Linked DNA regions of Homo sapiens: all the other regions are linked to region 1. The links are contacts of gene promoters, found by promoter capture Hi-C in blood cells and fetal thymus (Javierre and others, 2016). All regions are on one chromosome and are shown on one strand. Each heading gives the region's core, a stretch centred on a gene start or on the middle of the fragment in contact. The rest is flanking DNA. Distances are from core to core; before and after follow the strand shown.

What was found. The method cuts DNA at HindIII sites, captures the fragments that hold promoters and counts their contacts. A CHiCAGO score of 5 or more calls a contact.
Region 2: the fragment with the promoter of DENND1A here is called in contact with the fragment with the promoter of PSMB7 in region 1 in 9 of 17 cell types (non-activated CD4 T cells, total CD4 T cells, activated CD4 T cells and 6 more); the score reaches 14.9 in non-activated CD4 T cells.
Region 3: a contact is called between a fragment that was not itself captured here and the fragment with the promoter of PSMB7 in region 1, in 1 of 17 cell types (neutrophils). The highest score is 5.4, in neutrophils.
Region 4: a fragment that was not itself captured here is called in contact with the fragment with the promoter of PSMB7 in region 1 in 2 of 17 cell types (naive B cells and endothelial precursors); the score reaches 6.3 in naive B cells.

What each region holds. Positions count from the first base shown.
Region 1 is chr9:124,410,503-124,418,336 of GRCh38, reverse strand. It overlaps PSMB7 (proteasome 20S subunit beta 7), which reads left to right and starts at 2,895. Exons shown (of 8, transcript NM_002799.4): 1 at 2,895-2,973; 2 at 3,402-3,495; 3 at 4,332-4,429; 4 at 5,845-5,985. The coding sequence starts at 2,912. RefSeq lists enhancers at 2,939-2,988, 5,497-6,696. The HindIII fragment of the contact is 2,900 bases long and covers 547-3,446 here.
Region 2 is chr9:123,926,557-123,934,390 of GRCh38, reverse strand. DENND1A (DENN domain containing 1A) reads left to right here and starts at 4,265. Exons shown (of 24, transcript NM_001352964.2): 1 at 4,265-4,502. The coding sequence starts at 4,486. RefSeq lists a silencer at 4,039-4,528 and enhancers at 4,879-5,078, 4,708-5,393, 5,329-5,408, 6,459-6,508. The HindIII fragment of the contact is 11,751 bases long and covers 2,298-7,834 here.
Region 3 is chr9:124,871,002-124,878,835 of GRCh38, reverse strand. It overlaps ARPC5L (actin related protein 2/3 complex subunit 5 like), which reads right to left. Exons shown (of 6, transcript NM_030978.3): 4 at 5,072-5,144; 5 at 3,685-3,861; 6 at 1,103-1,958. The coding sequence ends at 1,896. It overlaps GOLGA1 (golgin A1), which reads left to right. Exons shown (of 23, transcript NM_002077.4): 23 at 1-561. Among named protein-coding and RNA genes, the nearest start is that of ARPC5L, 13 kb to the right of the region's middle. RefSeq lists enhancers at 5,875-6,104, 5,802-6,302. The HindIII fragment of the contact is 4,718 bases long and covers 974-5,691 here.
Region 4 is chr9:124,120,648-124,128,481 of GRCh38, reverse strand. No RefSeq gene overlaps it. Among named protein-coding and RNA genes, the nearest start is that of LHX2, 110 kb to the right of the region's middle. RefSeq lists an enhancer at 5,364-5,523. The HindIII fragment of the contact is 3,993 bases long and covers 1,303-5,295 here.

The DNA.
Region 1 (7,834 bases), core at 1,646-4,145:
TGCCTTGGCCTCCCAAAGTGTTGGGATTACAGGTGTGAGACACCATGCCCGACCCAAATTTCCAATTTTTATAAGGACGCCAGTCCTGTTGGATTAGGGCCTAGTGACCTCATTTTTAACTTGATTACCTCTGTAATATCAAATCAAATTCAATTCATTTGGAATACTTCCAAGTAAGGTCAGCTACTGAGTTACTAGGGGCTAGAACTGCAGAATATGAATTTATTTCCCTAATTTCAACGGAAAACTCAGAGGTAACGAAAGGGAATTCAACCTTTGACAAATGTTTATTAAACACACAGTTGTGATAGACACTGGTTCTAGGTGCTTCATTCATTCATTTGCACCTAGAACCATGTCTGACGCATAATGGGAGCTCAATAAATATTTGTTGAGTGAATAAATTAATTCATTCCACAGTCATTCAGGCTGTAAAAGGAGCCTTCAATTCCCTCAGTAAAATGAGTTGAATTACATAATTATCTCTTAGGTTTGTTGACAGGATGAAATGAATGTATTATTAATAATAACTATTTATAAGAAGCTTCTACATGCTAAGATAGATGGTCTTCATGTACAATGTTTAATACTCACAATAGCCTTATTAAAATGAAATTCACTGGCAAGGCATTGTGGCTCATGCCTGTAATCCCAGCACTTTGGGAGGCTGAGGTGGGCAGATCACTTGAGGTCTGGAGTTCGAGACCAGCCTGGCCAACATGGTGAAACCCTGTCTCTACTAAAAATACAAAAATTAGTCAGGCGTGGTGGCATATGCCTGTAATCCCAGCTACTTGGGAGGCTGAGGCATGAGAATCACTTGAACCCAGGAGGTGGAGGTTGCAGTGAGCTGAGATCATGCCACTGCACTCCAGCCTGGGTGATAGAGGGAGACCGAGTCTCAAAAAAATAAATAAATAAATAAAATAAAATAAAATAAAATAAAATTCACCTAACGTAGAAGTCACCATTTTAACCATTTTAAAGTGTGCAACTCAGTGGTTTTTAGTGTATTCATAATATCGTGCAACCAATACCACTATGTAATTCCAGAATATTTTCATCATTTTCCAAAAACTCTGCGCCCACTAAACAGTCCTATCCATTCTCTCCTCCTCCCCTAACCCTTAGCAACCAAACATCTACTTTCTGTCTGTGGATTTGCCTATTAAGAACACTTCACATACATGGAATGATACACTATGTGGCCTTTTGTGCCTGGCTTCTTTCCCTCAGTATATTTTTAAGGTCCATCCCTGTTGTAACATGTATCTGTGCTTCAGACTTCTTTATGGTCTAATAATATTCCATTAAATGAATTTACCATATTTTGTTTATCCATTCATCAGTGGATGGACATTTGTTTCCATTATTTGGCTATTGTGAATAATGAGACCCCCCCCTCGCTTTTTTTTTTGAGACGGAGTCTCTGCTCTGTTGCCCAGGCTGGAGTGCAGTGGCGTGATCTCAGCTCACTGCAACTTCTGCCTCCCTGGTTCGAGCTATTCTCCTGCCTCGGCCTCCTGACTAGCTGGGACTACAGGTGCCCACCACCACGTCTGGCTAAGTTTTTGTATTTTTAGTAAAGACGGAGTTTCACCGTGTTAGCCAGGATGGTCTCAATCTCCTGACCTCATGATCCGCCCACCTCGGCCTCCCAAAGTGCTGGGATTACAGGCGTGAGACACCGCGCCCAGCCAATGAGACCCCTTTTGACGCAGGGCAGGTAAGCCCCAAAGTGCGGCTGAGCCCACAAGGGTTCTTGGCTTTGCCCAAGAAAGAATTCAAGGGCAAGTTAGAGGCAGAAGAAAACGGCTTTATTGAAGTGGCGGCGTTACAGCTCCATGACTGCTCCTGCAGAGCAGGGTTACCCTCTTAGGCAGAGTGTCAGGGCAGTTTTGCTGTCATATTTATACACACTTTTAATTACATGCAGATTAAGGGGTGGTTTATGCAGGCATTTCTAGGGAAGGGGTAGTAACTTTTGGTTTATGGTGCCACTGCCATGGAAAGGGGCGGTAACTCACGAGTGTTGCCATGGCAACGGTAAACTGACTTGGCTGGCTGGTGAGCGAGTCTTAGGGAAGACAGCTTCCGTCCAGGCCCTGTTTTAGCTAGTCCTCAATTTGGTCAGGTATCTCAGCCCCATCTCTGAATGGAGGCCTGCCTTCTACCTCACCTTTGTAGAAGTTTTTGTGAATACATGTCTTCAACCCTCTCGGGTGCGTATCTAAGAGGATAATACTTTTTGGGGAACTGCCAAATTGTTTTCCGGAGCAGCCGCACCGTTTTGCATTCTCACCAGCCGTGTATTCGGGTTCCAATTTCTCCACACTCTCGCAACCCTTGCGCTTTTCTGTCTTTTTGTTTATGGCCATCCTAGCGGGTGCGAAGTGGGATCTCACTGTGGTCGTGCTTTGCATTCACCCTATGACTAATCATGTTGAGCCTCTTTTCACAGACTTAATGGCCATTCTACAGCAGCCTTTTGAGCTAGGTTGTAATCTCCATCTGATAGCGGAGGAAACAGATTCAGAGAGTTGAAGAGACTTGCTTAACGCAAGGGGGTGGTGGGGCTGTGCCTGGGACTTGGGTCTGTCTGTCTCTGAAGCACCGCAGAACCAAATTAACGGTAGAAACAAGTCCAGTCTGAGCGGCAGGAGACCTGGTCGCTGGTGCGTTCACCTTGGACAAGTCCTTTCCCGGTTCCGGGTGTCACTTTCTCCTCCGTGCCACTTGGGGCGATATACTTCAAACATCTCTGGCCTCTCTAGGAACCAGAATCTCTAAGATCAATCGTTCTAGTGCGGCGTTTGCCCCGCCCCTTCAGCCCCCGTTGCCAGCGACGCCGGAAGTGCTCGGCTCTTTTTGTTTGCACCCGCCTCCGACCCGGAACTGCTTTCTTGGGAAGATGGCGGCTGTGTCGGTGTATGCTCCACCAGTTGGAGGCTTCTCTTTTGATAACTGCCGCAGGTGCCGCCTTGCTTGGGGCTTGGTTCAGGGAGGGAGAAGAGTGCGGTGCTCGGGTGGGAGCTGGGCCAAGGTGTGATACGAGAATTCTGAGGGAAGAATTCATGGCGGGGCCTGTGGCCCGCGGCTAGTGTGACTCAGGGGAATCAGGGCCTGGGCGTGGGTTTCTCCTGAAGCCGGGTCTGCTCTCCCACCTTCCCAGCGCACTCGGCCACCGTTTATCTCCGTCTCCTAAGGCACGTCACGGCCCCTTTGTAAGACTGTCTTCGTTGGAAAACGGGAGAACAGTGCTGATGGTGGGAGGATTCATTAAACAGATGGGCGTGAAAACAAGTAGCAGCTTTCCTGAGTTCTCTGTTAGGCACTTTTCATGCCAGTGCTGTGCGATGTGGTCCTGCCCTTCAACACTTGATTCTCTCATTTGCTCTTAGGAATGCCGTCTTGGAAGCCGATTTTGCAAAGAGGGGATACAAGCTTCCAAAGGTCCGGAAAACTGGCACGACCATCGCTGGGGTGGTCTATAAGGTAAGCCGGGTTAGGCTAAGAGCAGCAGTGACTGAACCGGCAACAGGAATCAGAACACTTGGCTTCCGGTGTCTCTCCCGGCTCGGTCTGGAAAGGCAAATGCTATAGAATACATCAGGAGACCGTCTTTCAGGAGCGACTGCTTTTGTCAGGTTTTGTGTGCTTCTTAACAGTTTATGTTCTTTCCTCACTTTGCTGAGGTTTTTTCTTTCTTTCTTTTTTTTTTTTTTAAACAGGTCAGTTAGCTTCTTAATTACTAGTTTAGGAAGCTGAAGTATGTGATGGGAGATCACGAGATTTGGGGTCAGACAGGTCTGTCTCACCTTTGAACTCTATAGTGCTGATTCCAACTTCTGGCAGCTCACTTTCCTTCTCACAGGGACACCTTCAGATGCATCAAATGGAGATAACTCCTGCCTTAAATTGTTGGAAACGTCAAAAGGGATAATGATTACCTGTGCAACATGTTTTAAAGAAAAGCAACATGTTTTAAAAGGAAATTGATAGTGATGGCTAATTTAATGGAAAGATTCCTGAGTCTTAATCCAGGTTTTTTCCAGATTAGCTCTGATTTACAAGGAATTTACCCGACACCTGAGCCTCACTTGAAAATGGGAATAATTCTTACCTACTCAGGATTCAATTAGTAGCATTTACTAAGAAACCTTTTCTTAAATCCTGAAAGTGTAGCACAATATTTTTGCTATGAGTTTTGGCTGGCGTTTTGAGATTAGGGGAGCATGTGGTATGGCCAACATAGTATTCCCTAAAGTAGAATAGAGAGTTGCGGTTGGCTTATATTTGTAAAATTGTTTAAAAACTTTTTTTTTTAATAGGATGGCATAGTTCTTGGAGCAGATACAAGAGCAACTGAAGGGATGGTTGTTGCTGACAAGAACTGTTCAAAAATACACTTCATATCTCCTAATATTTAGTAAGTATTGATTCGTTTGAATAACTCTTATATTTTCAAACATGTCAGGGCTAAAAATTGACCTTCCTGTGCTCCTTACTAAAACCTGTTTTTCAACCTGTATTTTCTGTCTCCCTTAAATGGCATTTCCAGCCACCTGTTACCTAAGCCAGTAACTTCAAGTCCTCTCTTTGCTTCAGTCTCCAATTGAATTGGTGGCCAGTTTTGCCCTCTCTGTGCCTCTTGAATCCATTCCCTCCTATCCTTTCCTTTGCTAAGGCTCTAGTTTGGGTTCTTTTTTCTTTTTCTTTTTTTCAAACATTAACTTGAACCATAGAGGTTCTTTTTTCTTAGCTGGACTATTGCAGTTACCATTTAATTGGCCTCTCTTAGGCATCCTATTGTTCACTCTTCTGCCATACTGGATTTTGTAAAACATAGATCTGATGGCATCCCTTTCTTAAAAAGCTTTTCAAGAGACTTGTCACATTTCCACATGGCTTTTAGGATAAAAATCAAAATTCTGTGGCCTTGCACAGTCTCATAGAAAGCCTACCCTTCAAGCGTCTTTTTCAGTTGCCATCACCCTGTGCTCCAGTTACGTCTGAACTGTCCCTATTTCCCTCATCTCCAAGCTATTCTACCGTTGCTTATGTGAGATTCTATTTAGAAACTCTGCCTTCTCTGCTTGTAGAGTGTTTTTATTCCAGCTCATATATAACCTTTTCCTTTTTTTAAACATTTTTTTCGTTCTTTTTTTTTTTTTTTTTTTTTTGGGAGAGATGCGGTCACACTATGTTGCCCTGGCTGATCTTGATCTTCTGGCCTCAAGTGATCCTCCCGCCTGGGTCTCACATAGTGCTGGGATTACAGGCATGAGCCATCATGCCCAGCCTGAAACCTTTTCTTAATGATCAGAATCAATTACCTTCTCCTCCGGTTTCCCGTAGGATTTTGTACCTATGCTATTACTGTGTATTAAATTATGTGTTATAATTTTTGTCTTCTTGTGTATCTTACACTCAACTTTGAGCACAAGGCCTCTCATATTTTCTTTATTCCCAGTGCTTAGTGTAATTACTGGTATCTGATAGTAAATACTTGGTAGATGTTGAATTGCAAGAGTTAACACACCTGGCACTTCTGTACAACTTGGATATATTTGTAGCATTAATGGAATGCACACACTGTTATCACAGAAACCAATAATTTCATGTGTTCCATTGGGCCATAGATAATGTATTTGCATATAACTAGATGCATATTCTCAATTTTCTGTTTATTTAAGGTTGACTAAACAGAGAAGTTACAGCATAGATATACTCAAAAACATCTCTCTGTACCTGAACTTCATGGAAGTTATCCAAGAACCCATTACTTCTAATTGAGCCCTCTGGTAATTGGATTTCAGCTAAGTTTCTAATTGGATTTTTCAGTTGTTGTGGTGCTGGGACAGCTGCAGACACAGACATGACAACCCAGCTCATTTCTTCCAACCTGGAGCTCCACTCCCTCTCCACTGGCCGTCTTCCCAGAGTTGTGACAGCCAATCGGATGCTGAAGCAGATGCTTTTCAGGTAAGTTTCCAGAATGGGGATTCCTACTAGTATCTTCTTCTCATATCTTAGATTTTTTTCAGCCAAGAGAAGCCTGGAAAGTAGCAAAAACACATTCAGAAATACACATTTTGTTCCGGAAATCAGTTGTTATATTAAAGAGCCATTTTAAATGGTTTTTGATGGTGCATTTGAATTTCTGGGGCCTGATTTTTTTCATGAGTAAATCACATGTCACCAGTTGAGTCATTTCCTGGAGCATAGGGATATTACTGGATAAGAGAAACTTTTTTGTTCACGGTAAGAAAGTTATAGCTGGAGGAACTATCAAGTTGTCTTGTGAAACTACTCTCTCCTCCCCATAAACACAAACCCAAATGATTGTCTCTCCTTCCCCCCACCCCCTCCCTTTAGGGGCAAAATAACAGTGAATGAAAAGTGATATTTATAATTGGCTGTCAGTGGGTATGATAATATTAATATTAACCAACCTTTATCTACCTCTTACTCTGTTCCAGGACCTATGCTAAAGCGCTTTATGCACGATTTCATCCTTTTAACTCTGAGATAGGGACTATTAGCGTCTCCTATTTGTAAGTGAAGAAATTGAGGTTTAAAGAGGTGCAGTAGCTTGCCTGACCTGACCTTCATTCTCTGCTGACTCACAGCTCATATTAGTAGTTTTGTTTCTCTTTCTCCTTTAATAATTGCGTCATTACTTTATGTTTGTATGGGTCTTGGCAGTTTTCAAAGTGTGTTTTCTCATTTGCTTCTCATAAGAGAGGCAGTGATTTTAGGAGAAGTAGCCTGGGCATTTAGTCTTGGGTTGGAATACTGGCTTCTCCTTTTGGGACTTGCCTTACCTTTAACAAATTCTTTGCCTTTTTCCTTCTGTGTAGAATGGATATCATAATACCTGCCCCTAGTGGGGTGGTTGTGAGAATTAAAGGGGAGCACGGATAGACAGTAAAGATTTTAAACTGGTGGCTCATAGGCCATCAGCTTGTAGGGAAATTTGTTTGGGTCATATGGCCTTTTTTTCTTTTTAAATAGTGGCTAACAATTGTAAATGGGGAGATTTGAATTAAAAGTCTAGATTTTGGCTTGGCACGGTGGCACACGCCTGTAATCCCAGCACTTTGGGAGGCCAAGGTTGGCGGATCACCTGAGGTAAGGAGTTCGAGACCAGCCTGGCCAACATGGTGAAACATCTCTACTAAAAGTACAAAAATAGCCGGGCATGGTGGCGCTTGCCTGTAATCCCAGCTACTTGGGAGGCTGAGACAGGAGAATCGCTTGAACCTGGAAGGTGGAGGTTGCCGTGAGCCAAGATCACGCCACTGCACTCTAGCCTGGGTGACAGAAGAAGACTCCGTCTCAAAAAAAAAGAAAAAAAAAAAGTCTAGATTTCTGTCTTTTGAAAACATTGGAAACATGTGGCCGTAATCTTCGGGAACTCATTGGTGGTTGTTGCCTTAGAAGTGGGAGTGGGTGCTCTGTCACTTTCTCTGCCTGGCTCACTTCACTGTTCCCTTCAGGGCCCTGGCCTTCCTGATAATTTGCGGGTCCTCATCTATGTGTCTAGCATGGCCTGTGGGTTTTCAGTAGTGTATATGAGGTTGTAGCAAGGCCAGTAGTATAGTTCCCATTTTACAAATGAGACCAAAGCCTAGAGTCATATGGATAGGAAGCCTTGTCTATCCAATTGCTGCTTTATGTTTGTGTACGTATCATTATTCTAATCCAGGAGAATTATTGCCAACCAAATTCTCCCAGTACAGTGAGTAGAACTTGTTAAAGCACACCTATTGATCAGATTTCTGAAAAGATTTGTGGATTTTAATTTTAAATATAAAGCTCCCTCTGGTGG
Region 2 (7,834 bases), core at 3,016-5,515, 490 kb after region 1:
GTGAACTACATTTCAATAAAAAATAATATAATCACAATTTAACGTATTAGGAACAACAGACCACTGAATCCTGGCACACAGACCATTTGTTCTGCTATTTCGTATTGTATAATTGGGGGCCAATAGAGCTCCCTGGGGTTGCTGTCTTCCCCTCAATAAACACAGCTCCCTAAATTCCAAGCAGAGAAACCAAACAGGTACAAAAGAGCAAGAGCAAGCTTGGAAACTGAGGAGCATCAAAGTGTCAATGCAGGTGGTATCATCCCTACCGTTGGACTTTTATCTGCTAGATCTGCTTAGCCTATTTTGACAACAGTCAAGAAGGCAAAGTTCCTAAATCCTTTCTCTTCACCAGAAGATTTACATTCCAACAATTGATTATGGCATGTATTTGGCACAGAGGTCTCATTTCATTTGAATGACGTCAGATTCACCTAGGTTTAAAGGAATTATAAAATCAATCAGCCACTGAATTATAGAACTTTAGAACCCAAAAGGACTTTGGAAGGAGGTCACCTGGCCTGATTCTCTTATTTTGGTTAAATCTGTGGCTTGCTCAAAATCACATAGCCAAGCATGGCTGAGCCTGCTGGGTGTCTTGCAATATCTATCCTCCCCTTCTTTCCTGGAAATGCCATTCCCTTCTCCCTACCTTTCAGCTGCGGACCTTATTGTCTGGTTGTCTGGAATAAAGGCTGTATTTTCTAGTGAGGTGTGGTTGCATGACTAAATTCTGGCCACTGGGATGTAAATAGAAGTGGTGTGAGTAATTCCTGGGAAGTACACTTAAAGGTCAGAGTTTGACGTGGACAGATCCTCCTTCCTTCCTGCAGGCTGGGCTGCAGATTAGATAGCTAGAGTTTAAGCAGCCATCCTGGACTATGAGGTGGAAATTCTTCCTGGAGAATCGGAGAGCAATAAGATAGAATTCTGGGTCTCCATTAATTATAGAATTGTCATACCAGCTCTGGAATGTTAATCGCCAGACTTTATGTGAAAGAGAAATAAAATTCTATTTTTTTCAACAATTGTTATTTCACTTCTCTATCATTTACAGTTGAATTGAATTCTAACTGATACAGAACGTGAACAAACAAGTTGGGCTGAGAACTCAGGTCTCCCGAATCCAAGCATGGTACTCTTTATTATTATGTTGATCAGTTTTACAAAATGTATTTATTTATTTCAGAGATGGGGCCTCGCTATGTTGCTCAGGGTGGAGTGCAGTGGCTATTCATGGGCATGATCATAGCGTGCTGCAGCCTCAAAATCCTAGGCTCAGCCTTAAACTCCTGGGCTCAGCCTCCTGAGTAGCTGGCACTACAGGAACAAGCCACGGAGCTGGGTACTTTTTTTTTTTTTTTTTTGAGACGGAGTTTTGCTCTGTCGCCCAGGCTGGAGTGCAGTGGCATGATCTCGGCTCACTGCAAAATCCGCCTCCTGGGTTCACGCCATTCTCCTGCCTCAGGCTCCCATGTAGCTGGGACTACAGGTGCCCACCACCACGCCCAGCTAATTTTTGGTATTTTTTTTTAGTACAGATGGGGTTTCACCATGTTAGCCAGGATGGTCTCCATCTCCTGACCTCATGATCTGCCCGCCTCAGCCTCCCAAAGTCCTGGGATTACAGGCATGAGCCACCATGCCCGGCCTTTGTTTTTCCTTTGAGACAGTCTTGCTCTGTTGCCCAGGCTGGAGTGCAGTGGCGTGATCTCGGCTCACTACAACTTCTGCCTTCTGGGTTCAAGCGATTCTCCTGCCTCAGCCTCTTGAGTAGCTGGGACCACAGGCGCCTGCCACCACACCCGGCTAAATTTTTTCTATTTTTTAGTAGAGATGGGTTTTCACCATGTTGGTGGTCAGGCTGGTCTTGAACTCCTGGCCTCAAGTGATCCACTCGCCTTGGCCTCCCAAAGTGCTGGGATTACAGGTGTGAGCCACCATGCCCAGCCACTGGTTGCCTTATTAATTTTAATAATAAAAGCCAAACGGTGCTAAGTGTTTTGTATATAATAGTTGCTTTTAATTTTTGAGTACTTAATATGTGATAATCACTGTTTAAATACTTTATAAATGTCACTAACTCACTTAATCCTCGTGTCAACTCACTAAAATAGGTCTATTATTATCACCATTTCCATTTTACAGACAGAGAACCTGAGACACACAGAGAAGGAATAATTCACCCAAGGCCATATATTTAGTAAGAGGTAGAGCTGAGATTTAAACCCTGGCAGTCTGGTTCTAGAGCCTGTGCTCTTTGCTCCTATGTTACACTCGCTCTTATGATGGAAGCTTCTCATCACTCTCTCTGCCCATTTTACGGGGGAGGAAACTAAAACATACACTTGTCTAATCATTTGCATAAAATCTGCCAGTCAATGCTGAAGCCAGAATTAGAAGCCACGTTCCTAACTCCCAGTCCAGTGCTCTCTCCTCAGACCACCCTGCTGTCTCTGAGGCCACCTGAGCAGACACATAATCCCCACCTTCTACCTCCCTCTCCAACACACACACACACACACACACACACACACACACACACACACACCCCACCCAGCAGGCACCCAGACATATTTGTGGCCAGGATGGCTACAACCTCCTTTGAAAAGCAGCCAGCTTTGCCCTCCACCAATAACTTTGTTTTATTTATAGTCTCCTGCTCAGAGCTTTTGAACTGGCTCCCATTCCAGGGAAGATCTTGATAGCAACTGTTCCTTGGAGAAGTTTCATAGGTGAATAAACACCACAGAGCTCCTGCCTGTCTAGCAGAGCTTTGCTCCTGGGGGTGTTTACAAGTCGGTATTGGTGTCTGGGTGCATAAGACTTTAAATTCAAAATGACAGTTTGGACATTTTCACTTTTTTTTTGGTTTTCATTTTAAAAAGTTTACCCTTTGACTTCAACAACCTAAAGGCAGAGGCAAAAGGGAGAAACTATCTTTATTCAGAAGGTGACTCCAACAGAAGAAGTCTTCTACGACTTATCTTCTGGCTTTCTTTCCTCCCATCCTGGCCGGGAGCTAGGACGCAGGACCAGTTACGTAGAGGCTATGGGGTGGGGGTAGGGTGGGGAGGCACTCCATGCATTTATAAGAACTAAAATGGCAGAAGTGATGAATGGCATTTCGGGACAGAAAATTGGAAAAAAAAAAAAAAAAAGGAAAAAAAGCCTAATATTAAAAATGTCTTTGGACTTGTGGCCAAAGGTGCCACCTTAAAGCATGACTATGTCACAGGTGTCTGGAATGATTCAGTCTGGACACTAATCTTGGCTTCTTCACTCGTTGCTAGTTATGTGACCTTGGGAATGTGGCTCAGTTTCCTCTTTGTAAATTAGGGAGATGAACACAGGATTATTGTGAGGATTGGCACTAATGATGTACGGAAATACTGTGTCTGATGCAGAAAGGGCACTCACCCGCTCATTAAAGGGTGGCTAATGGTAGCTGTGATTATTGCTTCCTTTATGATCCCTCTGGCCCTAGAGGGGATGAAATTGAGGTGTTCATGGAAGTGAATCCCAAGGGGGAGCAGGGGTAGGTAGCAGGCTGGTGATCTCGGCTCTCAAATCCTTTCATTTGCATTGAGTTAATCTCTATCAGGGACTGTTGTGTTAACAGGAGGCTTCGATGTTGGAGTTCCCAAAACGGCTGATAAAGGGAGGCAGAGGTCCTCAGCGGGAGGGCAGAGCTGAGCCACCACGTGGGTCCACGAAGCCCCCAGGTGGCTTTCCTGTAGGTATGTGGGGTCTCCTTCAAGCTCTAAGGGGAAAGGAAGAGGAAAGGCCTTCAGATGGGGAAGTGGACGGTGTGATGGAGAAGAGGTTCTGCACGGAACTTACTGGAAGGTGCGGGATGTTAAAGGGAAAACGTGTTTTCATGGAGGCCTGGGCGGGGGATTAGCTCTCCGTTAGAGAGGCTGGGTGGGAGGCCTCCAATGGGAGGATTGGTGGCGGTTTCATCGGGAGGGCTTGGGGTCTCCATGAGAGGATTAGGGTCTCTTCAGGGCGGCTGTGAGTGGAGGTTTCCAGCGGGGCGCAGTGGGGTGCAGATGTGTAAGGGCCTGCAACGGAACGCCAGAGTCCTCCGGGGCCCGCGCCCTGGGAGACGTGCGGGTGACCGCGCTCCCGCCCCGCCCCCACCGGCCACGGCCCCGCCCCCGCGAGCGGACTACACTTCCCAGCAGCCCCAGCGGGCAGCGGCGGCGGCAGCGCGGGCGGGAGGGGCGGTGGTGAGAGGCGGAGGGGGCGGCGCGCGCCGGGCACGCGCGCCGGCGACCATGGCGTTCGCCGGGCTGGAGCGAGTACATTAACCCCTGGAGGCGGCGGCGGCGGCGAGGGAGCGAGCCTCGAGCGGGCGGGCCCCAGCCTGAGGGAAGGGAGGAAGGGGCGGGGAGAGCGCCAGAGGGAGGCCGGTCGGCCGCGGGCGGGCGGGCAGCGCAGCGCCGAGCGGGGCCCGCGGGCCCATGAGGAGGCCTGGGGACCATGGGCTCCAGGATCAAGTGAGTGCGGCCGGGCCGGGCGGAGCCGGGCCGGGCGCGGGGCGGCGAGGCCGGGCCAGGGCTGCAGGCCGCGGGCCGCGCGGGGGACTTGTTGCCGAGACCAGAGGGGCGCCCCGCGTGACGCCGGCACGCGGGGAGGGGGACGGTTGCTATGGCGATCCAGGGAGGCGCGGGGGCGGGGTGCGCGCGGGGTGGCAGGGCGCCGGGGGTCAGGTGTCCCCTCCTCACCTGGGGGTCGGAACAGCTGAGATTACAGGGCGGCCCCCTCCCCGGGTTTACGGAGAGCCCCTGAAAATGGTCCTTCAACTGTGGGGAAGGGGAGTGGGAAAGCCCCGGAAGCACCTCCCCATGTTTGGGCATGTTTGGGGCGCCCCTGAAAGTTGGCAGGTCCGGAGAGGTTGCAGCCTGGCCGCTTGAGGCCTGCGGCCCCCACAGAAGTCGCGTGAGGTTCTTAGAGGGAGGGGCCGCTCATGGTGTGGCCACCTAAGGTGTGGATGGCCGGGGAGGAAGGCCTGTCTCTCTATTTCCCCCCTCTTATCTGTGAAAATCTCCACGCAGCAAGGTCCAAAGGCTGTGAAGGAGGATACCTCTGTGTTGTAACCGAGCACCTGCTCTTGATAATCGTTGGAAAGGCTTTGTAACTCAATCTGGCGAATTCCCTCACTCATTCATTCACCTGGAGTTCCCGGTGGAGGGTTAGCTTTCCGGGGAAATTGTTGATACATGTAACTTCAGAATCCACTGAAACATTGTTGCTGTCCTTGTAGACTTAGAAGTTGACTTTGGAAAGTGCAACTCTTAAGCGGTCCAATTTGGGTGTGTGGCTTTCGACTCTATCTCCCCTCCCAGCCAGGTCCTCTTGTGGCCTCTCCCTTCCTCTGCCCCAGAACTGGAGATGTTTTATCTCTAATTACTAACAAATGTTCACTTTTTCCTCTGTGACTAATAGAATTGTTTAAGGGCATTAAAAAGCAAAGTTGACAGCATAGGCTTTTCTGTAAAACAACTTTCCTAGGACACTTTAAACCCTCTTACAAGAAAGTTTGTGGAATGTGTTTATTTCAGCATTTTGAGAATTGTACTAGGGAAGTTTGAAAGGAGAAGGGCCTTAAGGGTGAAACTAATAATTATTCAAACATTGCATCTCATGTCCAGGTGATGCCCGTGCAGTGTGACCCTTGCCCAGCCTTGCAGTCCCCCGTGTGGTTAGGCTTCTCATTTACAAAATATGTATGAGATGCGCTGCAGCAGCCTTGAGACATCTGCTGAATGAAACTAGAAAAGTTTGCTTATGGTAATGAAAATGGAAGAGTCGCATGAACACTCTGTTAAATCTTTATTTTTGTGGAAATGAGAAAAAAGTTAGAAGCATGCTCCAAACAAGAGCTTGAGAGGCTTGGGAGGTAAAAAGATGTCGTTTGTGAAACATTGGGATTAAAGAGGCACTCAAGTTTAGCTCCTGCTTCCAAGTAAGAGTTGTAAACTTGGATTTCAATAGCACTTAGAAACACTTTCCAGAAGCCAACTTAGAGTTGCAGAGTATGCGTGAGGACACTTACCCTTCTTGTTACAGAAAAGTTCAGAAACTTGCCTGACATGAAGCAGTGAGTGTCAGAACCAGTATTAAAATCCAGCAAGTAAAAGTTCAGATGGCTAGCCATCAAATCTCTCTGTTGCTCTCCAAGGTAGCAGGTTGACAAATACATTTCTCAAATGTGTTTTGTGGAACCCATCGCTAATTCTGAGCACTTGGGTTAGGGAATTTACTAAGGCATGGAATTGTATTAAGCGTGAAATGAGTATGAAGAATAGCCTTATTGATCTTGAAACTAGACTACTCTGTGATAAAAACTTAGGCTTGGGAAATATGTTAGCTTGTGGTGAAACCGAAAGAGAATATGAAGAGAGAAGTTATGAAAAGTAGTTGTGATTTATAGTGACTGTTGATTATGCAACTTCTGCCTGTAGCTAGGAATGGGGATGGACAGGAAATTACCCACTTAAGTGCTCCTCTAGTTGTTGGAGAAGACAGAGCTTTGGTTACTACTGGCTGGCTTTCCCTCCTGGCAGGGCATTCAAGATGTTCTCCTGGCTGTGGTGAAATCTAAGTGTGCAGGTTCCATTGAATAGGACAGTCTTGGAGGTAGGGACAAGGGGGAGGGGTTCCTTTTGTTTTCTCTTGCTTATCTCTGATGCAGCAAGTCAGTTGACTAGGTGGAATCAGGTCTAGGTTCAAATTCCAGCTCTTTTTAATGCTAATTATGAAACTTTACACAGACTGCCTTTTCAACCTCAGTTTCCCTGAAGGTAAAATGGGGAGGACTGTGTCCAGGTTGTAGGGTTATTATGAGCATTGAACACAGTATCAATGTAAATGTCAGGTCCATGTTAAAAACTCAGTAATTGTTAGGTTTTTTTCTTTTTTTTCACCTTCTGTATCAAAAGACTAAGAACATTACTGTATATTAGAAATGTCAGAGAAAGGTATGTTTAAGGTAATGGAGAAGAAAATTTTAATGACCAAGGAATTAGGCTGTTAACATGCAGAGTAGGGCTTAACATTGTCTCATTATTAAAAAATAAAAGTTGATTTAAAACAATATTGTGTGTAATTGTGAAGCTGGTGTCTGTTGTGTGATCAGTGGTAAAGCACGTGAGTTGCTAGGCACAGGTGTTGAGATTTCGTGTTTGATCAGACTTCTCTTTTAAGTTTAAGCCTGGTTGAACACAATCTCTGTCAGGTACCGTGGAAATCCTTAATGTGAACCATTTCATGAAACCCTCACTACTGTCCAGTGGTGGCGATGCTATTTATTAACCACATTTTTCAAATGAGAGAATGGGAGTTTATAGGCCTAAGATCAGATGCCATCCCCCAGACGCCTGCCTTGATGCCAGTTTCCTGTTGCCACCCCCACCCCCTCCTGTTCCAGTCTAGGCCAGGTGCCCTTCATCCGTGTTTCTGTGGCCCCTTGTGTTTATTGCAGTCACAATACTGAATCTCGTTTCTTGTCTGTGTCCCGTACCATGCTGGACATAAACTTCTTGAGAGGAAGGACTGTCTTATTTATCTTTGAGTTCCCTGTGTCAGACTCAATGCCTGGCACATGGTTGTTTGAGAAGAGTTCATGGAACGCATTTAAGAAATACATTAGGATCTATATTAAGATTCTAATTAAGACCGAGTTGAGTGTTTATCGAGTTAAAAAAAAAACCCTTGAGGAAGAAAAGTTTTATATTTTATAAATTTCTAAGGCAAATTATATGGTTTACGCAGGCCTTTTACTAGATTATTTAGTTCTTTTTTTTTTTTTTTTTTTTGAGATGGAGTT
Region 3 (7,834 bases), core at 2,083-4,582, 460 kb before region 1:
AACTGTTCCAGGAAAGAATCTCTAAGACTGGGTAGCTCACAGCCAGCCAAAGGCAGCTACATTTCCACAGAAGCCCATCCGCTGCCTCCGTGGCTTCTCCAGCCATTGAACTGGTCCCACACGCACCCCAGGCCCCACTCCTCGGCAGTTTCAGGTGTAGCTGTGGGGCCCGTTCCTAGGTCTGTACTCACTTTAGGGAGGCTTCACTGACTAGGCTTTCCTCCTGCATGTTGAATTTCCTTCAGCTTTAAGAGGAAGAGTGGAATAAATATTCTAAGTGATTTAATGCACTTTGACTTGTATAAAACTTTCTGTGTTAGCGACGGTATCTATAGCCCTTTATACGAGCGATGGATCTTGAGCTCTCCTTCCATGTTGTAAATAGGGATTGTATTCTTGAAAACTGCTGTAGCAAATTCATCTGTGGTGCAATACACTTTTTGATTAAAGCTCTTCAATCCAGATGCAACTACAATGGATTTTACTAGTTTGGTGTGTCAGTATTTCTTTGACTCATTAAATCTGGTATTTTGTGTCTCATATTTAACACTCCAAGGCCAACCTCAAGGGCTAGAGAATGTTTGTCTTTCTTTCAGAAAGAACCTTCCCAGACTGGATTTGGGTGAATAAATATACGTAATTTAATGAAGCCAACAGCCCCATTCTACCCCCCCCAAGAATTGCAGTGGTTCTGAAGAGGGACTGAGGAGGGGAGAGCTGTGGAGGGGAGGACTGTGTCACTTTGGTCAAAGTCTGTATCCAAAGGCTGTATGACCCAGAGGAGCTTCTGGAGTGTGAATGGGGCCCTAACCTTTAACAGAATGCAAGCTGCAGTCACATGTGCTGAAAAGGAAAGAAAAGCATTTTTGCCCTTCAGAGAAGCTCTGTTATTGGTTATGGGGAACCAAATTATACCATCTATTTGCTGATTGATTGCTCCCCATTTCTGACGTTTAGTTCTTTAAAGAAAGCTTGTCCATGCAGCAGTGATTCTGCAGCACAGCCAACCCAGCATCAGGAGACGTGACCAGGCACATCTGAGGCCCCACCCTCAAAAGATTCCAAGTGCAATCCCACAAACTGAAGACTTTTAAAGCCTAGATCAATTATTAAATGTTTGGCACTTTATTAAATTAATTAAATAAGCTCCAAAATTAATTACATACAAATCAAAGGAATAAGAAACAATAAATAGTTTATTCAGCAAACACCTCTCTGCAGCAGCCGGCAGCTCTGAGGCCGAGGCTGGCGTCCTGTGGCAGAGGGCCTGTGGATTGCCATGCTCGCTCCCAGGGGTGGCTCAACAGGGACACAGGTCTACTCCTTCCACATCGGGTTTCCGGAACAACAACTGAACTCTCATTCATTACCATCCCATTCATTACCATTTTTTTTTACATACACGAAACACACCGCAATGTATAGACTAATAAGCCAAGAGCTTTATTGATGCAGCAGGCACTTTACAATGAGCCCAAGAGTGTCCACCTTCTCTGGGAAGACAGGATGTCTGTACAAACTCTTGGGTTTTTTTCCACTTCAAAAACACAAGCTCTCCCGTTTACCACAGCCCTTGGATCTGCACCTGCCCAAACCATCCCTCCCCCAGTGCACACAGGTGCATCTGACCAACACCAGCCGCCACGCTGGTAGACCGTCAAAATGTCAGTTCTGCAGTACTCGGAGACAAAGGCATAGACTATCAGATCCTAAACAGGATTTAGGAAACAGACGATTTTCCCCTCCACCTTGAAAATAAAATACATTTCAGCAGATACATGTCCTGAAATAGTTTACTTGGGAGTTCCTAGGAAGATGGTCCATTGTCAATCCCTTCTTCACCAGCCTGGGCATCCAGAATTCTTCTCAAGGTAACATGAGTCTTTTTATTTTTTTTAAACAGTCTTTCTTGCTGTAAGAACTCTTATAATGGAGCCTAGTCCTCCTACTGCTAAGGCCTGTGGGGGCAGGAAAAGAAAACGTGTCAGATGAGACCTGGCTGGCCAAGGGGAGCCTGGCTTGCCAGAGACAGGGGGGACATTCCCTGACCTAGATCCCGTCACAGATCCTCGAAAGAGGATTCCTGAGATAGAGCACATTCTAGGGAAGGAGCCCTGTCCTGGAGCCGTGGGGTCCCGAGAGCTGTTGGCTCTTGGGCAGAACTGGCTTGAGAACACTGTCACCAGCACACAAAGCAGAGCCCTCGAGCTTCCCTTTTGAGATGGGGTCTCACTCTGTTGCCCAGATCACAGCTCACTGCACAGCCTTGATGTCCTGGGTTGAAGCCATCCTCCTGAGTAGCTGGGACCACAGGTGTGCACCACCAGGCCCGGCTAATTTATTTTTTTTGAGACGGAGTTTCGCTCTTGTCACCCAGGCTGGAGTGCAATGGCACGATCTCGGCTCACTGCAACCCTGCCTCCCCAGTTCAAGCGCTTCTCCTGCCTCAGCCTCCCGAGCAGCTGGGATTACAGGCGCCCGCCACCACCCCCGGCTAATTTTTGTATTTTTAGTAGAGACGGGGTTTCACCATGTTGCCCAGGCTGGTCTTGAGCTCCTGACCTCAGGTCATCCGCCTGCCTCCGTCTCCCAAAATGCTGGGATTACAGGCGTGAGCCCACCGCACCCAGCCTAGTTTATTTTTTTGTAGAGATGGGTTCTCACTACATTGCCTGGGCTGTTCTTGAACTCCTGGGCTCCAGCAATCCTCCTGCCTCAGCCTCCCAAAGTGCTGAGTTTACAGATGCACACAAGCCCACTGACTGCCGCCCGCTGAGGTGACTGGCAGGCACCAAGCTGCCTTAAAGGGACGAGAGGTCCTGGCCTCCCCATCATACAGAGGACTTGTTTACTTCCTTGAGCCCAGGAGAGGGGAGGCCAAGGAGGTGCAGCACACCCGCCAGCAGACCTAAGGCCACAACCACAGCCCAGCACCCACACCACCTTAAGGACTGGCCCACTGTAAAACCCCTCTCTTCCAACTCAACACTGAGCCTCTGAGGAAGGCAGGCAGGTTAGTAACTCCTGGTCTGCTTTAATGGTGGGCGTGCTTACTGCGGCACTAGGGGTGTGCAGGGGAGGGTGTGGGAGGCAGCCCCAGTGGTACAGGCACGACACAGGCTTGCCAAAGGCCTTGCTCTCACACGGACCCAAGCGAAGGGCAGACACAGCTCTTTCTGCTTCACCTGGACGAAGGCCATATTAAGTGAGGTCAAGGTTTCTGCCCACTGCTCACTCTGGCCTGCTAAGGCTGAGGCCAGGGCAGGAAGCCCTTAGAGCTGGCTGGAGGACTCTATTTCTAAGAACCCCCAACAGCTGCCTCCACCACTGCAAGTATCATGAAGCCCCAACCAACCAGCAGGCCCCCTTCCTACCTAGACTCCCTGACCACCTTACTATGCCATGTTATCTGCCCACATGTCCTGTACCAAGGGCACCCTGTCTTGCCTGACATAAATCGGCAGCTAAAAAGCAAAAAAGTAACTGCAATTACCACAGACAGCAGGTCCCTACCAGGAGCTTCCTTGGGAGAGGGAAGTGATGACATGTCCCAGGTTGGGGCTCGTCCTCTGACCCCACACGCCTATCAGACCGTCCTACGTTTGTTCTGGAAAATCTGGCCTGCTGATCGAACCCCAAGGCAAGCCAGGTGGCTCACTGGGGCGCGTGGCAGCGTTCACATACCTTTTCGTGCCACTGGAGTAACACTGCGCTGCTATTTTCTGTGGGCTTCTCAAAGCCTTTATAAATGTACTTCATTAACAAGTCAACGCCGTTTCTGTCCAGTGACTGCACAGCCTGCTCAATCTCACTGCTCTTGAAGTTTGTGAGCACTTTCAGCACCACGCCCTGGGCTCGCTCCTGCAGACGAAAAAGAGCAAGTGAGTCCCAGAGCTGCGAAGGCACCGCCATGCCATGCCCCACACCAAAGCAAGGACACAGATCACCAGAAACACTGCCCAGTTTCTAATTCGTCCAGGATGGTTAAAATAAGTGGGTTAGAACGTCTTTTGTGGATTTAAATTTCAAAGTATCTTTTATTTATGCCAACAAGTTACCCTACTTATTTTGGGGGAGTAAGTAGTTTACTAGGACAAGTATCAACTCTGAGAGAGAGAGAGAGAGAGAAGAGAAAAGAGGGAGAGAGGGAGGGAGGGGCAGGGTCTCGCTCTGTTGCCTGAGCTAGAGTGCAGTGGTGCAATCTCAGCTCACTGCAGCCTCTCCCAGGCTCAAGCAATCCTCCCACCTCAGTTAGGGCTACAGGCACATGCCACCATGCCCAGCTAATTATTTTTTTTATTTTTTAATACAGACAAAGTCTCGCTATGTTGCCCAGGCTGGTCTCAAACTCCTGAGCTCAAGCGATCCTCCTGCCTCCCAAAGTGCTGGGATTACAGGCATAAACCATGGCACCCAGCCCATCACTATTTTAGATGACACCAATAAGGCCTTATTATACTCCACAATGGTGGTGGACTATTAAAAAATAAAAATAAAACCAGGTTGACTCGGCTGCAGCGTCCCTCTTGTGTTCACACCCAGAAGGGTGGGGCCATTCCCCAGAACTCTGTGAAGGTGCAGCCACTGGTGACATCAAGATGCTGTCACAGCTGCCAGAATCCCAGCTGCAGGGAGACCCCTTTCTCTGAACCAAATTTTAGACTTGGTGATGCAGTAAGCACAATTTAGTTTTTAGAAGGTAGGAAAGCGTACGGGTACTTAAAATCCTCAGGCAGACAAAGCCTATTTAACAGTCTGTGGGAGCATAAGCACCACAGGTGAGCGAATTCATCCATTTTCCTCATCAGCCAGGGCCAGGCTGACTTCTCAGCCTACGAGGCCGTGAGCAGGAGTGAAGGCTTCTGTGGGGAGGTTCTCGTATATAAACGCTGACAGCGTTGATGTCAGAGAAGCCTCACCACCTAGGGAGCGCCAGGAGGCTTCCCTGGAAGCCCCGCCCAGTGCCAACTCACTCCCTCTGATGTGGATGAAAGCTCACACTCGCACTGGGCAGACACCCACAGCCCTGGTCCCAACAGCACCCAGCAGAGCCGCAGCGCCACCCCTTTACCTTCACAGCTTGATTCTTGGTGTTGACGGGAGAGTTCCGCAAGGCTGCATGGAATGCCCGAAGCATGTCCCCTGTGCATCACCACCAGTTAAGGATAGCTAGGCTCAAGCACATCCATGCCGTCATGAACAAGCTCACTTCAGAAACAGCTCAGGAACAGAGTCAGATGGGATCTCATCCATACCACCCACCTTCCACGGCTTCCAGGGGGGCAGAGACGGTTTACAGCCTGCACAGGGAGGCTGCAGGGCACCTCTGCCAACCATGCAAACCCTCCTTTCAACTCCCTCTCTACCTTCCACGTCAAAGCAACTGTCCTGGAGGGGTAACTTGATGTAAAATTGGATTGTGCTCACTTGCACCTGCTTGGTGCTGAGCACTGTATCTCCCCTACTGGATCCTCACAGCACCCGTACATGTGAACTGGAGGTCGTTCTCATCTTCTCATTCTAAAAAAGCGGAAAATGTAGGTACAAAGGGAGACCTCCTAACTCTTCATCAATGCTCTTCATCAATTAAACTATTAAGGAAATTAAGATGTGCTAGAACTTCTAAGATCTATCGGGATCAATGAGGTCCCAACTGTTACCTGGAAAGAGTTTATCAATCTAACAGAAGCTTTTGCCAACAATGAGCCAGTCTCCACCCTTACCCCCCAACCTCAGTTGCAATCCTGACAACACATTCTTTGCTGAGTTCTGAATACCCAGCATGCAAAAGAAAATTACAATCTGGGTTAGGTCCCCAAAGGTGACACCTATTTTAAACTGAATTACATCAGCCAACTTTCATTTCCTCGTATGAAACACTGGCTTCAGCCAAAAAGCTTCAAAAATAGAACAAGGAATGGCTTCTGCCCAATCGGGTCTCTACTCCTCTTCATGCAGTGATACCCACGTGCAGACAGGAAGGGCCTTCGGAGCAGAGCTGAATCTCCTGGCTTCCCCAGTATGAGATCCATCTTGAGTGAGCTGGGTCTGCGCCACCAGGCAAGCCACTCCCAGCGCTGGTTCCCCAGCTCCCTGCTTGGCTCTGATCCACCTTCCACACTCAAGAGGCAGTCCAGTCCCTCTGTCTTTCAGTTCTGGAGTTCCTTTTCCCCATCCAAACAAGGCCAGCCTGATATCAGCCACTGATAACCTCTACTTTGTAACTCCTTTTTTTTTTTGAGACGGAGTCTCGCTCTGTCGCCCAGGCTGGAGTGCAGTGGCGCAATATTGCCTCACTGCAAGCTCCGCCTCCCAGGTTCATGCCATTCTCCTGCCTCAGCCTCCTGAGTAGCTGGGACGACAGGCGCCCGCCAGCACGCCCAGCTAATTTTTTTTGTATTTTTAGTAGAGGCGGGGTTTCACTGTGTTAGCCAGGATGGTCTCGATCTCCTGACCTCGTGATCTGTCCGCCTCGGCCTCCCCAAAGTGCTGGGATTACAGGTGTGAGCCACCGCGCCCAGCCCTTGTAACTCTTTTCTAATGTGGTGTCCCCAAAGCAATAAGCAGGATCCCATAGGCTGAACAGAAAACATAGGCTCACTTGCTCTTCATGTAAACCTGGCACAACTAACAAATGACATCATTCAAATGATGGATGGGGAAGGGCAGGTATAAAACTAGTCCACGGGGGCAAAAAGCTACTGCTGTGGCGTTAACTCAGCACCACGCGTCCAGCAATCACTCGGCCCATTGATGGGTGAGGGCCTTCAGCAGTTGGGAGATGTGGGGCGCAGGGAGGACCTCCCTGAAGTCACCTATCATTTGTGAAGCCGGCTGTCATACTTGGCTGGCTTTAGGCCTTTTCAGAGAACAGGCTGTGGTGCTGAGGGAATCCTGCCCAGCCCTTGATCTCCTCTAGATCTTCCTCAATCACGGCACAACTGACACTGTGGACCCAGGATTCTCTGACGTGGGATCTTAGCTGTGTGTCATAGGCCTCTGCCCACTGGATTCCAGTGGCATCCCCAAGCTGTAACCATCAAAATGTCTCCAGTTTCCTGGGGGTGGAGGGGAAGGGTGCAAAATCGCTCACAACCACTGCTCTGGACAGAGCCCTGATCCAGAAGTATAGAAGCTGCTTCACTGAAGGGGAAAGGAACTCATACTTTTAAATCGCCACAAGGTCTCGGATCCTGTGCCAGGTGCTTTCACACGCCATCTCATTCCAAAAATCCTTGTGACAATAATCATTATCTCATTTTAAAGGCAATGGAATTGAGGCTCAGAGAACAGAAATTACCTGCGCAAGGTCACAAAACTAAGCTGTCTACACGGCCCTCACACCCAAGCTCCTCCCACAATCCCATGCTGCCGCTCTATCTGCAGACCCGAGCTGCATGTCCAGGACACTTGCTGTGTGCCCAGTGATGCTGATGTTAGCCCATGAGGCTCCCACGGAATCTAGGAAGCCAGCATGGCTGTCCGCCACGTAACAGAAGATGCTGAGTTGTGAAAGGGTATGCGACCTATCCGAGGTCACAGAGCCAGAGCATGGTAGTGCAGGGTGTGCGCAGATGCACAGCCGGGTTCCTTCTACTCCATCTGTGTCATCTCCTGCCACACACACTTCCCTATACAGCCCCAGGACAGGGCCCCTCTCTGCCCTCCCCAACCCCAATCCATCTATCCCTCTCCCTGCTCCCCTGTCCTCAATGGTCTAATATAAGTCCGATTCTTGGTACATGATAGAGACTCAATAAATATCAGTTCCATTCTCCTCCACCTGGGCCCCGTATTTGCCAGGGTTTCAGTTACCTTTATCCGTTAACCTCCC
Region 4 (7,834 bases), core at 2,050-4,549, 290 kb after region 1:
TTGAACTTGGGCCTCTAGAGTCAGGCAGCCACTCCAGGATCTTGATCTGGGCTTTGGGGGTGGGGTGGAGGGAATAGCAGTCTCCCCAGGGTGTTTTGCACCTAAAGAAATAGGTTTTCCCCTCCCCCACTGCCACCAGAGTATTCTAGTAAATGGCTCTTACCTTCAGGATAAGGGTTTCCCTTGGCATAGTGTTGAGTTTAAGCATACCAGATATTTGAAAAATTTCGACCTACAGGAACAGCAATTTTATTTTATTTTATTTTTTACTTTTTTTTGAGATGGAGTCTCACTCTGTCACCCAGGCTGGAGTGCAGTGGGGTGGTCTCAGCTCACTGCAGCCTCCCCCTCCCCAGGTTCAAGCGATTCTCCTGCCTCAGCCTCCCAAGTAGCTGGGATTACAGGCACGTGCCACCACGCCTGGCTAATTTTTAGTAGAGCCAGGGTTTCACCATGTTGGCCAGGCTGGTCTTGAACTCCTGACCTCAAGTGATCCACCTGCCTTGGTCTCCCAAAGTGCTGGGATTACAGGCTTGAGCCACCATGCCTGGCCATGGGAACAGCAATTTTATGCAGTTCAACCTAATACAGCAGAAAGAATGTGGGAATTTCTTTCTGCTGTATTAGGTTGAACCATATACAATTTGGGAATCAGATGGCCCTGGGGCAAATACTGGTACTGTTATTTGTTAGCTGTGAAACTTGGGGCAACCTCACCCGGCCTCACTTTCCTCATCCATCAATGGAGATAATCATGGGTTGTTTTTCAAGGGTTTGTAGAGGACTCAGGGAAATGCCGAGGGTGAAGAGGAACGCCTAGGGTCTGGAACAGAATAAGAAGGCTCAGGATCTTTCTTCCTCCTTTTTCCCTTTTCCCTTCCCTTTTTCCCCTTCTCTTCCCTCCTTTTTCCCCATTCTCCCTTTCCCTAGAACAACAGTGAAACAATCCATGAGCAAAATGGCGCCAGCTGAAAAAGAGAGCCTGGGCATGGGTCTTGGCTGCTTCCTCCTTGCTGTTCAGCCTGGAGGATGCAGTTCTGTTCTGTGGGCCTCAGTGTTCCCATCTGTAGAATGGGCTGGAAGACCATGAGATCAACTAGGAAGACCCTTCCGGCTCTGATGGTCTGGGCTTCCCCAGCTGGGGGAACAGAAGGATGACAGAACAAGGAATCTTGAAGTCTGGTCGGGCAAGAATTGGGGAGCAAGGGGGTCACCATAGATAGTCTTTGAGGACAGGGCACTAGAAAGTGGCTTAAAGTCAGTGGAGGAGGCGAGACCTGAAGAAGTGCTTCTTTCTAAGCTTTGAGGGATGATGACTTGGTTGTAATGCTGCTGCTCCATAGAGTTTTAGAACGACCCCGTAGATCTCCGCTAACGAGGGTGGGCAGGTGCCCCACCGGGTGGGCCGCATCCTCTCCAGCCCTCCAGGCCCCCGCGGGAAGGACCCAGGCTGCTGTGGAAACCTTAAGAGACTGCGCCCCCTGGTGTCAGAACGCTGTCATTGCAGCATGGGACTTCCAGCCTGGGGAGGCAGCTTCTCACCTGCAGACGAGGGCTCCACCCTAGCCAGCAAGTTTCTTTCCAAGAGGAGGCTGGGGAGCAGCGCTTGGGAAGAAAGTGGCTTAAGTTGGGTCAAGCCTGTAGGGCTGAAGGCTGGTAAGGACCCTTCATTAACCTCTTGAGCAAATATTTATTGAGAACCTACTATGTGCCCGGCAGTGCGTTGGGCCCTTGGATCCAGCTTTGAACAAGACAAAGCCCTTGCTTGGCAAGGAGCCCACACAATCCAGGGCTCTCGGACTGGCTGAGGACCTGCTATGTGCCCAGGTCTTATCCCCCAGACTCTTCAAAGCAACTGTGGAGGCGAGAATTATCATCTCCATTTTATTTATTTATATTATTTTATTTTTTGAGACTGAGTCTCACTCTATTGCCCAGGCTGGAGAGCAGTGGTGCGATCTTGGCTCACTGCAACCTCTCTCTCCCAGGTTCAAGCAATTCTCCTGCCTTAGCCTCCTGAGTAGCTGGGATTACAGGTGCGCGCCACCATGCCCAGATAATTTTCGTATTTTTAGTAGAGACGGGGTTTCACCATGTTACCCAGGCTGATCTCAAACTCCTGACCTCAGTTGATCCGCCCACCTCGGCCTCCCAAAGTGCTGGGATTACAGGTGTGAGCCACCGTGACTGGCCTCATCTCCATTTTACAGGTGGGGGAACTGAGGCCTGAGGCCACACAAGTGTAAGGGGCAGAGCTGGGATCTGGACCATCAGACTTGGATCTGGGCCATCCAGAGTATCCCATCACACAAGGTTCATGTAGCAGAAATCACCTGCCCCTCCAAGCAAGTCACTTGCCTCCTCTGGGACACGGAGCCAGTGAGGTGCCTGGAGGATTACACAAGGTAGGGGGTGTCCTGATGCCCTTGCCCTGTGTCCAGGGAGACCTCCTTCCAAAGAGTGGGGGTTGCTCTCTGGAAGTGGGCATCCTGGGGCTCCGGGCATTGTTCTCATTGTCTGGCCCTCCTCTTTGTCTCTGGAGTATCCTGGGCTCGCTTCTCCCCCGGCAGAGCCAAGGGCCAGCTGCCTGGAGAGCAGGACCTGCCGGCCGCAGGCTCATTAGAGCCCTCGCAGACGCCCCTCTACCGGGACTCCCCACCCAGGGTCTGAGGGGGAGTTTGACACGAGTCTAAAAATAGCTGCTGTTTTGTTCCTTTGTTGGAGGGGAGGGGCTGGCAGAGGGATTCGGGCTCCTCTTAATGACCGACCCACCAAGAACAAAGGCTTTTCTTTGCGTTGGCTCTGCTTCCAGCAGCAGCAGGCCCCCGGCTCCAGTATCATCCTTGGGGCTCAAGTGGAACCCAAGCTGCTCCTGAAGAGCCAGCTTGAGGGCAAAGGCAGGCCCAGGCCTCTGACCAGGGCAGCCCCAGCCCAGGCTGACCGGCGGGCACATGGTGGGCAGTGGGGTCTGTGGGCAGGGCTCTGCAGGGGAGGGGTCTGCCTGTGACACTGTTTGTGATGTCAGACCCCCTGGCAAGGCTGGGGGCGGCAAGCATGGGACGGCAAATGACTGTGCGTGGCTGGTTGCAGGCAGGTGACTCTGTGGGATTGTGTGTGACTGTGCCTGGGACACTGCGTGGCTGTGTGCAGGCAACACCATGAGGGACTGTGTGGACGCTGCTGTGGAAATTGCATGACTGTGCCTGTGACACTGCGATGGGACTGGGCGTGAGCAGGTGAGGTCGTGAGTGACTGCGTGGCTGTGCAGGTGACAGCATGAGTGAGTGTTGGCTGTGCATAGTGAGACTCGCTAATGGGCAGGTGACGTTGTATGTGTTGGATTGACATGGGGTGATGGGGCTGATGGTACAGGGAACATTCTATGTGACTCTGTGACTGTATTGGTGACACTGGGAGGTGGGGCTAACTGTGCAGGTGACATTGCAAGTGGCCCTGGGACTGTGTGCAGGTGATCATGACTAAACCATTGTCAGGAAACTGGCAGATCTCAGAGCCCATCAGGCGCCTGGAACAGCTTCCGGCCCTCTTCTCACCTCCCCTTCTGTGGGGCAGCTCATGGGGCCCTCCCTTGGATGGCTCCTCCTGCCTCGCCTGCTGCTCACCTGCCACCTGTGTCTCTAGGCGTCCCTCTCTGCATCATCGGGTTCAGGGTATAAGGCCTCCAACCACCCAGCACGGGAGCTGCACTTGGGAGAATGACTGGAGCAAAAGCAAATGCATGACACTCCTGCTGGGACCTGCCCAGGAGAAAGGAGGCCAGAGGGGAGCCCGGGGGTGGCTGGGAGGGCTGCAGCTTGATCTGTAATGTTTGGTTCATTTTTAAAAGGGAGAACACATGCCTGTATATTTGCTGTGAATCTAGGTGGAATGATTATGTGTGATTATTATACTATTCTCTTGATTTTTCTGAATTTCTAATCTTTCAAAATAATGAACAAAAGCAAAACATGCTGATGATAGGATTTGTTATACACAAAAGTTAACATTGACTTCGTGTCAGGTGCTGATCTGAATGCTTTACATGGGTTATTTCACTGAATATTTACCGTTGTCCTAGGAAGGAGGTCCTATTGCCATCCCCCATTGTATAGATGGGGAAACTGAGGCTCAGAGGGATTTATTAACTTGCCCTCCAACACACAGCAGGTAAGTTGTGGATCCAGGATTCCTAACCCAGACCTGCCTACCCAACGATCATTTTCAGACGTATTCCTCCACCACCTGATACTTTCTTCTTCTCTCTCCCCCTTCAATGCTTTTAGCAAAAAAAGAGAGATAAATACATTTTTAAAAATAAAAACAAAACCAATAGAGTAAAAAATCTCTCTCTAGGAGTAATCACTGTTATCAATTGATCATAGATCCTTTCAGATGTTTTCTATTTACATGTGCATGTGTTTGTGTGTGTGTGTGTGTGTGTGTGTGTGTAGCTCGCAAGATCACAAATGTTATTCACATTACAACTTGGAAATGTGGATAAATGTTGTTTCTTTATTTTGTCTTCTTGAGCCCCACAACCATTGGCCAGTGGGAACAATAGGACACTTTCCCCTATGTGTGGATTCCATTTGTCCAGTCCAATCATCTAAACTGGTCCTTCTTGTAGTTCCTGATCTCCCCAGATAGCTCCCTTGTCTCGCTTCTCTCCAGTGGTTGTGCCTGGATGCTTAAGGGGAAGTGTGGCTTAGGTGGCTGTATTAGTCCATTCTTATGCTGCTATGAAGAAATACCCAAGACTGGGTAATTTATAAAGAAAAGAGATTTAATTGACTCACAGTTCTACATGGCTGGGAGGCCTCAGGAAACTTACAATCATGGTGGAAGACACCTCTTCACAGGGTGGCAGGAGAGAGAATGAGAGCTGAGTGAAGAGAGTAAAAGCCATTTATAAACCATCACCACCATGATTCCATTACTTTCCACCGGCTCCCTCCCATGACACTTGGGGATTATGAGAACTATAATTCAAGATGAGATTTGAGTAGGGACACAGCCAAAACATATCAGTGGCCTTGTGTGGGGGAGGGAGAGTTGGGGCCATAGGCTCAGAGTCACCATCTGCCTTCTCTGGCCTCTGGGACTGTGTCCCTCTCCCTGGTTGCCATGTGCCCTACAAGTGTTCAGACTGAAGGCTGAGGCTACTGTAATTTCTCATCCTCCATCCAGGCCATAGCCCAAAAGCCCCACCCAGATTCCCTCTGGCCTGAAGTCACCCTCTCTTGCCTCACAGTGGCCCTGGCTCTTACCACTGCCTCTACACGACACAGGAAAGCTTCAAGTCTCCCAAAGTGCTGGGATTATGGGTGTGAGCCACTGTGACTGGCCTACTTCATTTTTTTTTAATAGTGCTACAGTATACCAGAGTATAGATATACCAAAATTTAGTCATCCATATTTCCTCTGAACAACACAGGAAAGCTTCGAGTCTCCCTCTGCTGGCTGCCACTGCTACTAGGGGGGTGCTGAGCCAAGAGTCCCATGTGTTAATAATCAACCCTCATAATAAATCAACCCAAAATGTAATGGCTTCAAACAGCAGTCATCATGTAATATCTCTCCTGATTCCTCTGAGTTGGGAATTTGGTGAGGGGGAATTGGCTGGGCAGTTCTGGCGGAGTTGCTCCTGAGATTTTAGTAAGATGTCAGCAGGGCTGCAAATGATCTGCAGGTTGGACTGGGCTGGAGGATCCATTTTAAGTTGGCTCCTCATATTTCCGGCAAGCTAGCATGGGCTATCATCTCCTCTCTATGGGGGCCTCTCCATAGAGCAACTTGAGCTTCCTCACAGCATGGTATCTGGGATCCAAGAGTGAGCATCCTAAGAGAACCAGACAGAAGCTACGTTATCCTGATGACATAGTCTTGAGGTTACATAACATCACTTCTGCCATATTCTGGCCACAAGGGTGAACCCTGACTCAGTGCAACAGAGGACTGTCAAGCACTGTCTAGGGTGTGAGATTTTACCCTACTTGCAAGCTAACAAGTTAGCCTGCCACAGCTTCATGGATGCTGGTAGAAGACATGAGGCTCCAGGGTCTGACACAAAGGACAGGTCATGACTCACAGCAATAGCAGCAGCCAGAGTATCAGCATTTTCTCATTGGTTTCCAAGCCTAAATTCCCACATATCAACATGAAGAGCCCCAGAAATCCTGGGAACACACAGTGGACTGTGTCACAGGAGAGGAACCCCGAGTTTAGGAAGCCCAAGCCCTCTCTAATGGGCAGTGAGCATGCCTGCTTTTGGCTCTAGAGGGAGAGACTCTGCCTGTCTTCCAAGGCTGTTTGCATCAGAAAGAAATTATCCAAAGATGCCACAAAACATGGGCTGTGGTAGCCAGACTTCAAGATGGCCATTATTGGTCACCTTCTTGGGTAGTCCCTGTTGCAACACAATTCCCCATGAAGCTTGCTATAGATTTAATTATGTCCCTCCAAATTCATATGTTGGAGTCCTAACCCCCAGTGTGACTGTATTTGAAGGCAGGGCTTTCTGGAGGTAATTAAGGTTAAATGAGATCAGAAGGATGGGGCCCTAATCCAACCAGATTGGCGGCCTTATGAGAAGAAGAAGCAATCTCTCTCTCATTCTCTCTTCCCACCATGTGAGGACACAGTGAGAAGGTGGCCATCTGCAAGCCAGGAAGAGAGCCCTCACCAGCAACCAAATTGTCTGGCACCTTGACCTTGAACTGACAGCCTCCAGCATTGTGAGAAATAAAGTTCTGTTGTTTATGCCCCCCAGTCTATGGCACTTTGCTATGGCAGCTTGAACAGACTAAGAGCTCTCACGTTCTGGCATGACTTGTGAGCAAGGCATGACTGCCCTTTGCTCTGGACTATCTTTTCAAGGCAGATGGCTGGTTCCCTGACCCATTATTGCATACTCAGAAAATATTTTTATAACCACATTAATACTTTTCAAAATATTAAGCCCATTCACACACAGTTTTTTTTTTTTTTTTTCAGAAACAAATATGGGGTTGTCTAACACATTGCTTTCTCTTTTCTTTTCTTTCTTTTTTTTTTTTTTTTTTGAGACAGAGTCTCGCTCTGTTGCCCAAGCTGGAGTGTCTTGGTGTGATCTCAGCTCACTGCAACATCTGCCTCCTGGGTTCAAGCGATTCTCCTGCCTCAGTCTCCCAAGTAGCTGGGATTATAGGCACCCACCACCGCTCCCAGCTAATTGTTGTATTTTTAGTAGAGACGAGGTTTCACCATGTTGGCCAGGCTGGTCTCGAACTCCTGACCTCAGGTGATCCACCTGCCTCGGCCTCCCAAATTGCTGGGATTACAGGCATGAGCCATCATTTGTTTGCATGAGCAAACAAAAGAGTCGGCCTCTTTTGTTTTTTTTTTTAACCTGTTATCTTAAACTATTAAGGGTTAATAATACATTGTTTTCAATTTTTCTTTTTATATTAGAAAAGGTATTATGAATTTTATAGATTCTGTGTCCATACTACAGATCTACTTCATTCTTTTTCTTTTTTCTTTTCTTTTCTTTTTTTTTTTTTTTTTTGAGACAGAGTCTCACTCTGTCACCCAGGCTGGAGAGCAGTGGCACAATCTTGTCCCACTGCAACCTCTGCCTCCCGGGTTCAAGCAATTCTCTTGCCTCAGCCTCCCAAGTAGCTGGGATTGCAGTTATCTGCCACCATGCCCAGCTAATTTTTCTATTTTTAGTAGAGATGGGGTTTCGCCATGTTGGCCAGGCTAGTCACGAACTCCTGACCTCAGGCAATCTACCTGCCTCAGCCTCCCAAAGTGCTGGGATTACAGGCGTGAGCACCACGCCTGGCCTACTTCA